2 separate regions of the Homo sapiens genome follow, and region 2 is linked to region 1. The links are contacts of gene promoters, found by promoter capture Hi-C in human tissues and cell types (Jung and others, 2019). All regions are on one chromosome and are shown on one strand. The core of a region is centred on a gene start or on the middle of the fragment in contact, and the rest is flanking DNA. Distances in the headings are between cores, read along the strand shown.

The links. Contacts are between HindIII fragments. The study calls those that stand out against the background at their distance.
Region 2: the fragment with the promoter of ARHGAP33 here is called in contact with the fragment with the promoter of TYROBP in region 1 in 1 of the 25 tissues and cell types used here (adrenal gland).

The regions. Positions count from the first base shown.
Region 1 is chr19:35,905,468-35,911,275 of GRCh38, forward strand. TYROBP (transmembrane immune signaling adaptor TYROBP) reads right to left here and starts at 2,828. Exons shown (of 5, transcript NM_003332.4): 1 at 2,701-2,828; 2 at 2,263-2,295; 3 at 1,979-2,113; 4 at 1,751-1,797. The coding sequence starts at 2,761. RefSeq lists a silencer at 1,840-1,993 and enhancers at 3,805-3,934, 4,085-4,134, 4,235-4,344. The HindIII fragment of the contact is 6,909 bases long and covers 102-5,808 here.
Region 2 is chr19:35,772,722-35,778,529 of GRCh38, forward strand. It overlaps ARHGAP33 (Rho GTPase activating protein 33), which reads left to right and starts at 2,843. Exons shown (of 21, transcript NM_001366178.1): 1 at 2,843-2,943; 2 at 4,924-5,021; 3 at 5,103-5,187; 4 at 5,559-5,639; 5 at 5,743-5,808. The coding sequence starts at 2,938. RefSeq lists enhancers at 2,335-2,394, 4,416-5,301, 5,302-5,808 and a silencer at 2,625-3,104. The HindIII fragment of the contact is 39,613 bases long and covers 1-5,808 here.

The DNA of each region.
Region 1 (5,808 bases), core at 1,578-4,077:
GACAGAGAGGGGGATAGATGACTAGATTCTCTTGTATACTCTATAGTTTTTAAAAAGAGCTTCAGCCAGGCATGGTGACTCATGCCTATAATCCCAGCACTTTGGGAGACCGAGGTAACAGGATCTCTTGAGCCCAGGAGTTTGAGACCAGCCTGGGCAACATAGTGAGAACCTATCTCTACTTTAAAAAAAAAAAAAAAATTAAGGCCGGGCGCGGTGGCTCACACCTCTAATCCCAGCACTTTGGGAGGGAAAGGTGGGCGGATCACGAGGTCAGGAGATTGAGACCAGCCTGGCCAACATAGTGAAACCCCATCTCTACTAAAAATACAAAAATTAGCCGGGTGTGGTGGCATGCACCTGTAGTTCCAGCTACTCGGGAGGCTCAGGCAAGAGAATCGCTTGAACCTGGGAGGTGGAGGTTGCAGTGAGCTGAGACCACACCATTGCACTCCAGCCTGGGTGACAGAATGAGACTCCATCTCAAAAAAAAAAAAAAATTAAAGTAGAGAAAGAAAAAAGAGCTTCAAGAATACTCAACCAGCATGGTTGCTTGAGCCTGTAATCCCAAGATTTTCGGAGGCTGAGGCGGGAGGATCACTTGAGACTGGGAGTTTGAGACCAGCTGGGGCAACATAGTGAGACCCCTGTCTTTTTTTTTTTTTTGAGATGGAGTCTCACTCTGTCGCCCAGGCTCACTGCAACCTCCGCCCCCTGGGTTCAAGCGATTCTCTTGCCTCAGCCTCCTGAGAAGCTGGAATTACAGGCGCATGACACCATGCCCAGCTAATTTTTGTATTTTTAGTAGAGATGGGGTTTCACCATCCTGGCCTGGCTGGTCTTGAACTCCTGACCTCGTGATCCACCCACCTTGGCCTCCCAAAGTGCTGGGATTACAGGTGTGTGCCACCATGCCTGGCCAAAAAAAAATTTTTTTTAATTATAAAGAACATTTACACTGCTCTCAGATTATATGCACAATTTTGTATTTTTTGTGTAGATTTTTCTGGGAGTCTAGATTTTCTTAGTTTCTCAAAGGGATGAAGGGTCCTCAAACCCAAAAAAGAGATTCTAGGACTCCTCTCTTTAGAGTTACCAAGGTAGGGCTGAATGACATTCTCTGCCCTACTGAGAGCGTCTCCCAGAAATCAGTCGTCCTAGGGCTGGGTTTCTTCCAGAAAATTCCTGGCCTGACTTCTGGCAAGGCCTGTGTTTACACTTACAAAGGCAAAGCCACCCTTTTTTTTTTCTTTTTAACTCTTCACGCTTTTTTTTTTTTGACAGAGTTTTCCTCTTGTTGCCCAGGCTGGAGTGCAATTGCGTGATCTTGGCTCACTGCAACCTCCGCCTCCTGGGTCAAAGGATTCTCCTGCCTCAGCCTCCCAAGTAGCTGGGATTACAGGCATGCGTTACCACGCCCAGCTAATTTTGTATTTTTAGTAGAGACAGGGTTTCACCATGTTGGTCTCGAACTCCTGACCTCAAGTGATCCACCCGCCTCTGTCTCCCAAAGTGCTGGGATTACAGGTTTGAGTCACCGTGCCCAGCCCCTCTTCACACATTTTAAGCTGACCATAAGCTTGTGGTTGATCATTCGGCCCAGTTTTGGACAGATGTCCCATGTGCCTTCAAGGTTTGGGGGTGCTTTAGGCAGAGTGGCTTTGAGGTCCCTCTGATGGCATGAAGGAGTATCTGGGGCAGATATCCCTGGCAGGAGTGAAATGTGAGGAGGACAGTCTGGTTTTCTCACCTGATAAGGCGACTCGGTCTCAGTGATACGCTGTTTCCGGGTCGCTGCTGGAGGTGAGGGGTGTTGTGGGGTGCAGAGACAGGCAGAGTGGTGAGTTGAGGGTGTTTTGTCATTCCAAATCAGCACCTCCATTACCATCCCTTTGGATGTTTGAGATCTGGGAGTTTACCCAGCCCCCCACCCCCATCTAGGCAAGTCCTCAGGATGTCCCCTGCTAGCCCCACTCACCCTCCGCAGCCCCTCGCCCCCGAGGGACCAGCCGGCCCAGGAAGTACACGGCCAGGGCAATGAGCACTGTCAGCACCAGGTCTCCCATCACGATCCCTGCCAGCACGCCCGGGCTCACCGTAGAGCAACTGCAATCTGCAGCACAGGGGTCAGGGGAGGTCAGTGTGTGCTGGGAACTGTGGGGAGGGGGGTCAGCGGCAGGGAGGTTTGGAAAGGGTGTGGGAGAGACGGAGACAGGGAGGTCTCTGGGAGGTAGAGAGAGGGACTGCTGGGTCTAGGCCTACCGCTCTGGGCCTGGGCCTGGACAGGACGGAGACCTGAGGAGGAAAAAGAAGGTAAACTGAGGCACAGAGTTATGACGGGGGTGGGGGAGGCAAGTTTAGAAGCCAGGGAAGGTGGATCCTGACAGCCAAGAGGTTAGCAAGGGGGAGAGCGTGTCTGGCGGGACTCAGGGGGCTGGCGTCTGGGCCACCGGACTATGTGCGTTACTTCTGCACAACTTGTCCTGTGGCAACACACTTAGATGTCTCTTCTCCCCTGCTTGTAGCGGACGACAAAACTTGGGGGCTTGGGCTCTGGGAGAAACCCACAGGCTTTGGGAGGTTGGGGACCTGCTCCCATCCCAACACCCACTTTTGGTTCTCTCGTTCCACCCCACTCCCTGCCCTGCCCCAAGCTGAGCCCAGGGACCCGGGAGGCAGCCACGGAAGCCCCTAACTCACCACTTACAGCCAGCAGGAGAGGCAGGAGCAGGAGCCTGCTGCAGGGTTCAAGTCCCCCCATGAAGCCGGATGCTGCTGGACACCACAGTGTAAGGGCCGGTGGGATGTGGCGCAGCGTCCAGGCAAGTGAAGGAGGAAGTCTGAGGCGGGTGGTGGCAGAAGGGAGGAGGAGACAGGGGAGGAGAGACAGAAACAAAACCCAAGAAAGAATCAGGCCCAGACACCCAGGGGCCATGCCACAGGCCCCCAGCAACTAGACGTGAAGGGCAAAGGGTACGTGAAGCACAAACTTCACCTCCGTCCCCAGTCAGGGGTCAGACATCGTTTTAACAGGAGGGTCAGTGTCATGACCTTCCTCTGGCTGATTGAAACCAGCTCTGCCTCTTCCTGGCTGGTCAACCTTGAGTGCAATGGCACGGTCTCGGCTCACTGCAACCTCTGCCTCCCGGGTTCAAGTGATTCTCCTGCCTCAGCCTCCCAAGTAGCTGGGATTATAGGCGCCTGCCACCATGCCCGGCTAATTTTTTGTATTTTTTTTTCTTTTTTTTTTAGTAGAGACAGGGTTTCACCATGTTGGCCAGCTGGTCTCAAACTCCTGACCTCAGGTGATCCACCCACCTTGGCCTCCCGAAGTGCTAGGATTGCAAGTGTGAGCCACCGCACCCAGCTCCAACCTCAGTTTCTTCATCTGTAAAATTGGGAGTAAAATGGGACCTACTTTTTAGAGTTGTGGGGATTAAATGAATTAAAGTTCCTAGACCAGGGTCTGACCCTTGTCAGCTTTTTAAAAGCATCAGCTATGATGATGATTATTTAATCATCAGAAACTTGTGCTGTTTAAAGGATATTAAAAGAGCCAGCAGCATGTGGGCACTAATGACATGCAGGCACTCTGTCCCAAGCGTTAAATCATTCAGTCCCCGCAATGCCCTTCTAGGGCACATGCTCTTATCATCCCCATTGTTCAGAGAGGTAGAGACGCTTGCCTAAGGCTGCACAGCAAATCAAGGTGGAAATGGAACCCAAGACCCAAAATCAGGTTTTTGACTAGGGAAGAGTCAGGGGGAAAAACAAAGATGAAAGATGGGGAAGGAGAAAACAGCGGCAAAGCTGAGAAAGGTGAGAGTAAGGCAGTGGCACAGACACAGAGGCACGGCTGGCGGCTTGGGGAGAGGCAGGTGGCTGGCTCTCCTGCTGAATGAGGAAGTGGCTGGGAGCAAGGCCCAAGGGAGGCCACCCCAAGGAGACGGGGACTTCTAGCCCCCAGCTGGAGCCTGGGGCTGGGGAAGGAGGAACCTGAGGTTAGGGTGCTGGAGGATGAGACAGCTGCAGGAAGCCCCCCTCCCCCATCCACACGTCACACCCACCGCTCCTTGGGCCTGGGCTTAGGAGAAAAAAGGGGAAACTGGATTCTGGTCACAGGGCAGATGCCCAGTGGCCTGTGGGGGAAGGGAGGAGAGGAGATTTGGAGCCTGGAGGAGGGTCAGGTCCCAGCTCAGCCCACGGTCACCACTGTTCAGGCCTGGCTGAGTCCCCTCCCTTAAAAACCCAAGCCTCTCCCATTGTGTCTAGAGCGAGCATGGAGGGAACAGACCCTGTAGGTCCTCCCGGGCACACCAGGCCACCCAATGTGTTGGAGCAGAGTGGGCGAGGGGGCAGTCAGAGACCAGAGCAGGGCTCTGAGCCAGGAGGGCCCTGACCTGACTCAGGGGTTCACAGGTTCCCTCCGGCCGCAGGTGGGGAGCAGACTGTGGAGGCAGGGACTGGAGCAGGGAGGCCAGGCTGCTGGGATATTTGTGAGGATATTGTGAGGTCTATTAGAATAATGCCTGGTTGAGTTCAAGACCAGCCCGGCCAGCATGGTGAAACCCCATCTCTACTAAAAATTAGGCTGGGCACGGTGGCTTATGCCTGTAATCCCAGCACTTTGGGAGGCTGAGGCGGGCGGATCACGAGGTCAGGAGATCGAGACCATCCTGGCCAACATGGTGAAACCCGGTCTCTACTAAAAATACAAAAAATTACCTGGGCATGGTGGTGGGCACCTGTAGTCCCAGCTACTCAGAAGGCTGAGGCAAGACAATACCTTGAACCTGGAAGGTGGAGGTTACAGTGAGCTGAGATCGCGCCACTGCACTCCAGCCTGGGCGACACAGCAAGACTCTGTCTCAAAATAATGATAATAATAATAAAGGGCCAAGCGCGGTGGATCACGCCTGTAATCCAACACTTTGGAAGACCGAGGTGGGCGGATCCCCTGAGGTCGGCAGTTCGAGACCAGCCTGACCAATATGGAGAAACTCGGTCTTTACTAAAAAATACAAAATTAGCCTGGCGTGGTGGCGCGTGCCTGTAATTCCAGCTACTCAGGAGCCTGAGGCAGGAGAATCGCTTGAACCCAGGAGGCAGAGGTTGCAGTGAGCAGAGATTGCGCCATTGCACTCCAGCCTGGGCAACAAAAGCGAAACTCAGTCTCAAAATAATAATAATAATAATAATAATAATAATAATAATAATAATAATAATAAACTTTCACTCCTGCTCTAAAACTTACCTTGGTTTCTCACTCTGCCTTATGTCCCTTGGTCAAATTCTTTTTTGAGGAGGCAAGGATTGAGGTTGCTGCAGACCCCTATGGATTCACTGCTGCGAACATACTTCGGTACCGTGTGACTTGGATATGTTCCATGCTAAAAATTAGTATGTCCAGTCTCGAGTTCTCAGCTTAGCTTGATAAAAATCCTCCCTCAGCCAGGTGCAGTGGCTCACACCTGTAATCCCAGGCGTGATTTTGGATTTTGGGACTTTAGGAGGCCAAGGAGGGTGGATCACCTGAGGTCAGGAGTTTGAGACCAGCCTGGCCAACATGGTGAAACCCTGTCTCTACTAAAAATACAAAAACTAGCCAGACATGGTGGCAGGCGCCTGTAATACCAGCTACTTGGGAGGCTGAGGCAGGAGAATCGCTTGAACCTGGGAGGCAGAGGTTGCAGTGAGCCAAGATCATGCCATTGCACTCCAGCCTGGATGACAAGAGTGAGACTTTGACTCAGAAAAAAAAAAAAAATCCTCCCTCAGTCCTTCAGCATCAGCCTCCTAGTCTCATCC
Region 2 (5,808 bases), core at 1,593-4,092, 130 kb before region 1:
GGTCACGGGTGGGGTCTAGAAGCATTCCTGAGGAAGTTACACTTAAGCTGAGACAGGTAGAAATTATCTAGTTAACAAAGGGCTGTCCTAATTACTCTAGTTGGATAACCGCTCCCAAAACTTAGTGGCATAAAACAATTATTTTATTATGCTCATGGATTCTGAGAGTCAGAGGTTTGGACAGGGCTCATATGGGGACAATTTTTGTCTCCTCCATGATGTCTGGGGATTCACCTGGAAAGACTCAAAGGTGACTTGATAGACTTGATGGCTGTGGAGTAGAATCCTCCAGAACTTCTTCCGTGGTCTTCTCCCAGTCTGACTGGGACTATTGACTAATGCCTATACATAGCTCCATTGGCCTGGGCTTCCTCAAAGCATGTCTGCTTCAGCATAGTCACACTTCGCATATGATGCACCATGGTTCTACAGCTCATTCCAGTGGACGAGAACATTGGTCAAGAAGCTGCATTGCCTTTCATCACATAGCCTTAGAAATCACCGTGTCACTTCCACTGTTTTCTATTGGTTGAAGCTATCCTAGTCCCACCCAGATTCATAGAAAGCAATCATAGAGTCCGCGTCTTGATAAGAAGAGTGTCAGAGAATTTGCAGCTGTTTTAAAATCACTGCAGGACCCCATTCTCCATGATGTGATTATTACACATTGCATGCCTGTATCAAAACATCTCATGTGCCCCCTCAATATATATACCTAAATATACCTGTTATGTACCCAGAAAAATTAAAAAATAAAAAAAAAAATCACTGCAGGGGTTGATGGGGAAACACTAGACAGAAGGAATATCGTGTGGGAAATCCCTGTGATGAGAGTGAGGTCAGCAAATTTAGTACATAAGTAACTGCACATTCACCTCTCCCTCAGCACTCCCTTTCACCAGCCCTTGCTTAATTATTCTCCATAGAATGAATCACCTTCTAATATTTTTTTTTTTTTTCAGACAGAGTCTTGCTCTGTCTCCCAGGCTGGAGTGCAGTGGCAAAATCTCGGCTGACTGCAACCTCCGCCTCCTGGGTTCAAGCAATTCTCCTGTCTCAGGCTCCTGAGTAGCTGGGATTACAGGCACACGCCACCACACCTGGCTAATTTTAATATTTGTATTTTTAGTAGAGACGGGGTTTCAGCATATTGGCCAGGCTGGTCTCGAACTCCTGACCTTGTGATCCTCCCGCCTCGGCCTCCCAAAGTGCTGGGGTTACAGGCGTGAGCCACTGTCCCCAGCTTTTTTTTTTTTTTTTTTTTTTTTTTTTTGAGACAGAGTCTCACTTCAACACCTAAGCTGGAGTGCAGTGGCGCGATCTCGGCTCACAGCAAACTCTGCCACCTGGGTTCAACCCATTGTCTTGCCTCAGCCTCCCAGGTAGCTGGGATTACAGGCACGCCCGCCGCCACACCTGGCTAATTTTTGTATTTTTAGTAGAGACGGGGTTTCTCCATGCTGGCCATGCTGGTGTCGAACTCCTGACCTCAAGTGATCTGCCCGCCTCGGCCTCCCAAAGTGTTGGGATTACAGGCGTGAGCCACCACGCCTGGCCTAATATTCTATATTTTGTTTAATGTTAATTTTGTTCATTGTCTTCTCCCAGTAGCTTTTGAGCTCCAATGTGGGCAGGGTATATTTTCTCCTGGTTTGGTTGTTGATGTATGTACAAATTGATTAGAGTTTGAGTGAATGAATGAATGAATGAATGAATGAACAGACCAAGACCCTCTGAGATGAGAATTTGTTGAGGGCATGACTAAGGAGAGACCCTCCTGTGAAGGGCGTTATTACAGTGTTATCTGGGCATGCTCAGTATTAGCAGGCTCCATTGGGAATGGCTTTATGGGGGGCATAAGCATGATCTGGCATTTCCCCCTAAGCATTTTCCTAGAAAAAAAAAATCAAGGCTGGAGATTGGCCCGTAATAAGCAGTAGAAGGGGAAACAAGAAAATGTCCAGTGGGCAGGGGAGGCCAAATCGCAGAAAGCCTCGGGTTACGTCCTAGGCAAGGTATATGAGGCAACGAGAAACGTCCATGGGCGGAGCGTCCTCGGCATTATGTGAGCGGGGTCGGGATCAGGACTGAAAAGGTGAGACTTGGGACTGGGACTTTGAAAAGCTGCTTAAGGAACTGGGCACTGCTCTGAGGCCGTGGGAGAATCCAATTAAGACTATCAGGGGCTGGCTGGCGTGGTGGCTCACGCCTGTCATCCCAGCGCTTTGAAAGGAGGCTGAGGAGGGAGTATCTCTTGAGCCCCAGAGATCAAGACCATCCTGGGTAACATAGTGAGACCCCCATGTCTAAAAAAAATTAGCCAGGCGTGGTAGCGCACGCCTGTAGTCCCAGCTACATGGGAGGTATCGCTTGAGCCCAGGAGGTTGAGGCTGCAGTAAGCCACGATTGCAGGACTGCGCTCCAGCCTGGGCGACAGAGTGAGACCCTGTCTCTTAAAGAAATAAAAATAAAAAAGTCAGAAGAATGGACACTGGGAGTGGACGAAAGGTAGGGTCCATTGCTTGGTGTTGGAAGTGTCGGAAGCAAAGCATAAAGAACCTGGGGGCTTGTCTCAGGAGGGCGATGACAGCCAATGAAAAGCAGTCATGGGCGTGGCGCTGTCAAACTTCGAGGGGCGGGACCGAGGACACAGAGCCGGGGCGGAGCCCAAGGTGAAACCAATGAGAAGCCTCCGGGTGGGCGGGGCATCGGCCTAAGGCCAAGGGCGGAGCCAATGAGAAGCAGCGCCGCGTTCCCGCTGCCCCCCGCCCCCGTGGGGCGCGCGCCGGAGCCACGGGCAGCCGTTAGGGGCGGGGTCTGCAGCCGCCCGCGCGCGGCTCGCGCCCTCCCCTTTGTGTCGCCATGGCGGCGGCAGCGGCGACGAGAACGGCGAGCGAGGGGTCGAGCGCGGCCGGGGCCTGAGGAGGCTACGCGACCATGGTGGTAAGGGTCCCACGCGGCCGTCAGCCTGTCCGTCCGGATGTCAGTCTGTCCGTGCGCAGCCCCGCCCCGCGCGCCCCGCCCCCGGCCCCGCCCGATCCCGCGGCCTGTGCTTCAGCCGTGGTCCCTCCCGTCCTGCGGCCCCATCCCGGGTCCCAGCCCGTACCTCGACCCCGCCCCCTAAGCGCGCATCCCCGTCTTCCACGCCCTGGATGGGGTGACAGGGACCTAGGGCCTGGGCTGGGAGGAGGCGGGGCTAGTCCAGGAAGGGACCCGCGCCACCCAAGTGGCCCCTGCAGGGGCCTCCTGAGGCTCCTGGGTCCTTCCCCAGCTCCCATCCCAGCACCTTCCTCGGCATCCTTCTGCCAGCCCTCAGCCCTCCCCGGCGGAGCCCCCTCCTCCTCCCCACAGCCCCTTTCTCATTCCCGAGCCCCACCCCCCACCCGCTCCATCCCCAGCCTGACCCTTTTCTTCTCCTTCTCCCTCATTTTCACCCTATCCCAGTTCCTCTCAATCCCCCCCGCCCCGCATCAGTCTGAGCCTTTGCCTCGTCTCTCCAGCCACTCCTTCCTTACTCCACCCCAACAGGCCAGCACTGTACCTCCCTTGATCCTCGGGTCTGCTCCATCTCCTTGTCCTCATCCCCCTCCCCCACCATTTCCCTCTCCCACCATGCTGCTCCCGCTCATTCATCCATTCATTCCCTCACTTAGCAGACATTCACTGAGACCGCCTCTGTGCAGGCCCCACGCTCCAGGCACAGAGAGAGTCAGCTCCCATCCTGCCTTGGGGAACCTTATGGGCTGGAGGGGGACAGACCCTGAGGGTGAGACCCTGAGGGTGACTGGGGGTTGCAGGGACATGGAGCAGGGAGACGCTACAGCCCAGTGAATCTGTCTGGCAGCTGGTTAATTTATTCATCAGATTTTACCCAGTCCCTGCTGCGCGCGACTGGGCTGGCACTGGGGACCCAGAAAAGAATCAGGAACAATCATGTCTGAACACCAACTCAATGCCCAGCTCTATGCTGGGGAGCTCAGTCTGGGGCCCTCCTTCTGGGAGGCCGGTCATAGTCCAATGAGAGAGATGAACTTGTCACCACCAGTGCCATCTCAGAGTGATCAGAGCTGTGAAGGGAGAAGCTCTGGTCAAGGCATGGAACCTGGGATGGGGGAACCTCAGGGGATGGAGAGAGTCCAGAGGAGATGCCAGGTGCAGCCTGAAGGGTCAGGGAGAACTTCCTGGAGGAGGGCACATGTGAGTTGGGACCTGAGGGGTGGGAGTGAGGATGAATGTACCCAGGGAAAGGTGGGGCGAGTGTTCCAGGCTGAGGGAACAGCCTTTGCAAAGGCCTAGAAGGAAATGAGAAGAGGGTGCTTTTTTTGGACTCTTAGAAGTTCAAGAGCTCTGAGAGTGGGGGCAATGGGAAGAGATGGGACTGGAGAGGTAAACAGAAATCAGCTCAGGGAAGTCTCGATTATCAGACCAGAGAATTCAGACTTCGTCTTGAAGACAACAGGGAGTCATTGAAGGCCCAGGATCTATGGAGAAATAGAGCCAGATTTGTGTTTTCTGAAAACGATCCAGGCTATTGCGGAAAAGCTGGCAGGAGGGGAGAGGCTGGAAGCAGGAAGGCTGATGAGATGGGAGTTGTGATTGTCTAGACAGTGGTAGGAGATCACTGTACTCTGCAGGGGCTACGGAAGGGTTTTCAGCAGGGAGAGATGGGACCAGCATGCTCTCCATCCTGTTGCCCCGCCTCACGTCTGGCCCCTGCTTCTCCAGTCCCCCACCCCAGACCACACACGAAGAAGCAGTCCTGTCCTCAGCCCAGCCCTCACCTCCCCCGACCTGCCATCCTGCTTCATGCTCAGGGCGGTGTGTGGAGCGCCCGGGGCTCTGGACCCGCGCTGCCAGATAACAATGCTCTCGTTGTCTCTTTGCTCCCATCTCTGGGGGCCTCTGATTCTTTCTGCTCTACAGGCACGCAGCACTGACAGCCTGGATGGCCCAGGGGAGGGCTCGGTGCAGCCTCTACCCACTGCTGGGGGGCCCAGTGTGAAGGGGAAGCCTGGGAAGAGGTGAGGGTGAGGGAGGAAAGGGCTCAGCTAGGAGCTGGGGAGACTCAAGGAGCTGCTGGTGACGCATCCCCTGTCTCCCAGGCTCTCAGCTCCTCGAGGCCCCTTCCCGCGGCTGGCTGACTGCGCCCATTTCCACTACGAGAACGTTGACTTTGGCCACATTCAGGTATGGGGGCTTTGCATTTGCACCCAGGAGGGAAGACAATATCCTACCCAACCTTGCAACGATATCAGGTGCTTTGCTTCTGAAACTTATCCCTGTGACTGGCTGCTGCACGCGTCTGAGCAGTCAGTAGCAAAAGTTGCAGGAGCCACAGCAGATGGGGAGAGCTGCTCATTCATTCATCCATTTGTTCTTTTATTCATTCAACAACAACTTTTGTTAGGTATCTGCTCTATGTCAGGGACCAGGACATCACCAGGCCCTGTCCTCGGGGAGGTCCAGAAGGGAGTCACAAACCCGTCCCTAGATAGTGCCATCCCCAGGAGGTCAGGACTGGGACAAAAGTCCACCTGGGCCTTGCTTTCCCTCTGCAGCTCCTGCTGTCTCCAGACCGTGAAGGGCCCAGCCTCTCTGGAGAGAATGAGCTGGTGTTCGGGGTGCAGGTGACCTGTCAGGTGAGGCCATCCCGCCTCTCATCTAGCCTGAGAGAATGGCCACTGTAGTCCTCAGCTCGGTGTCATGGGGCCCCTGCTCCCTTCTGTCCCTCTGCTCCCACAGGGCCGTTCCTGGCCGGTTCTCCGGAGTTACGATGACTTTCGTTCCCTGGATGCCCACCTCCACCGG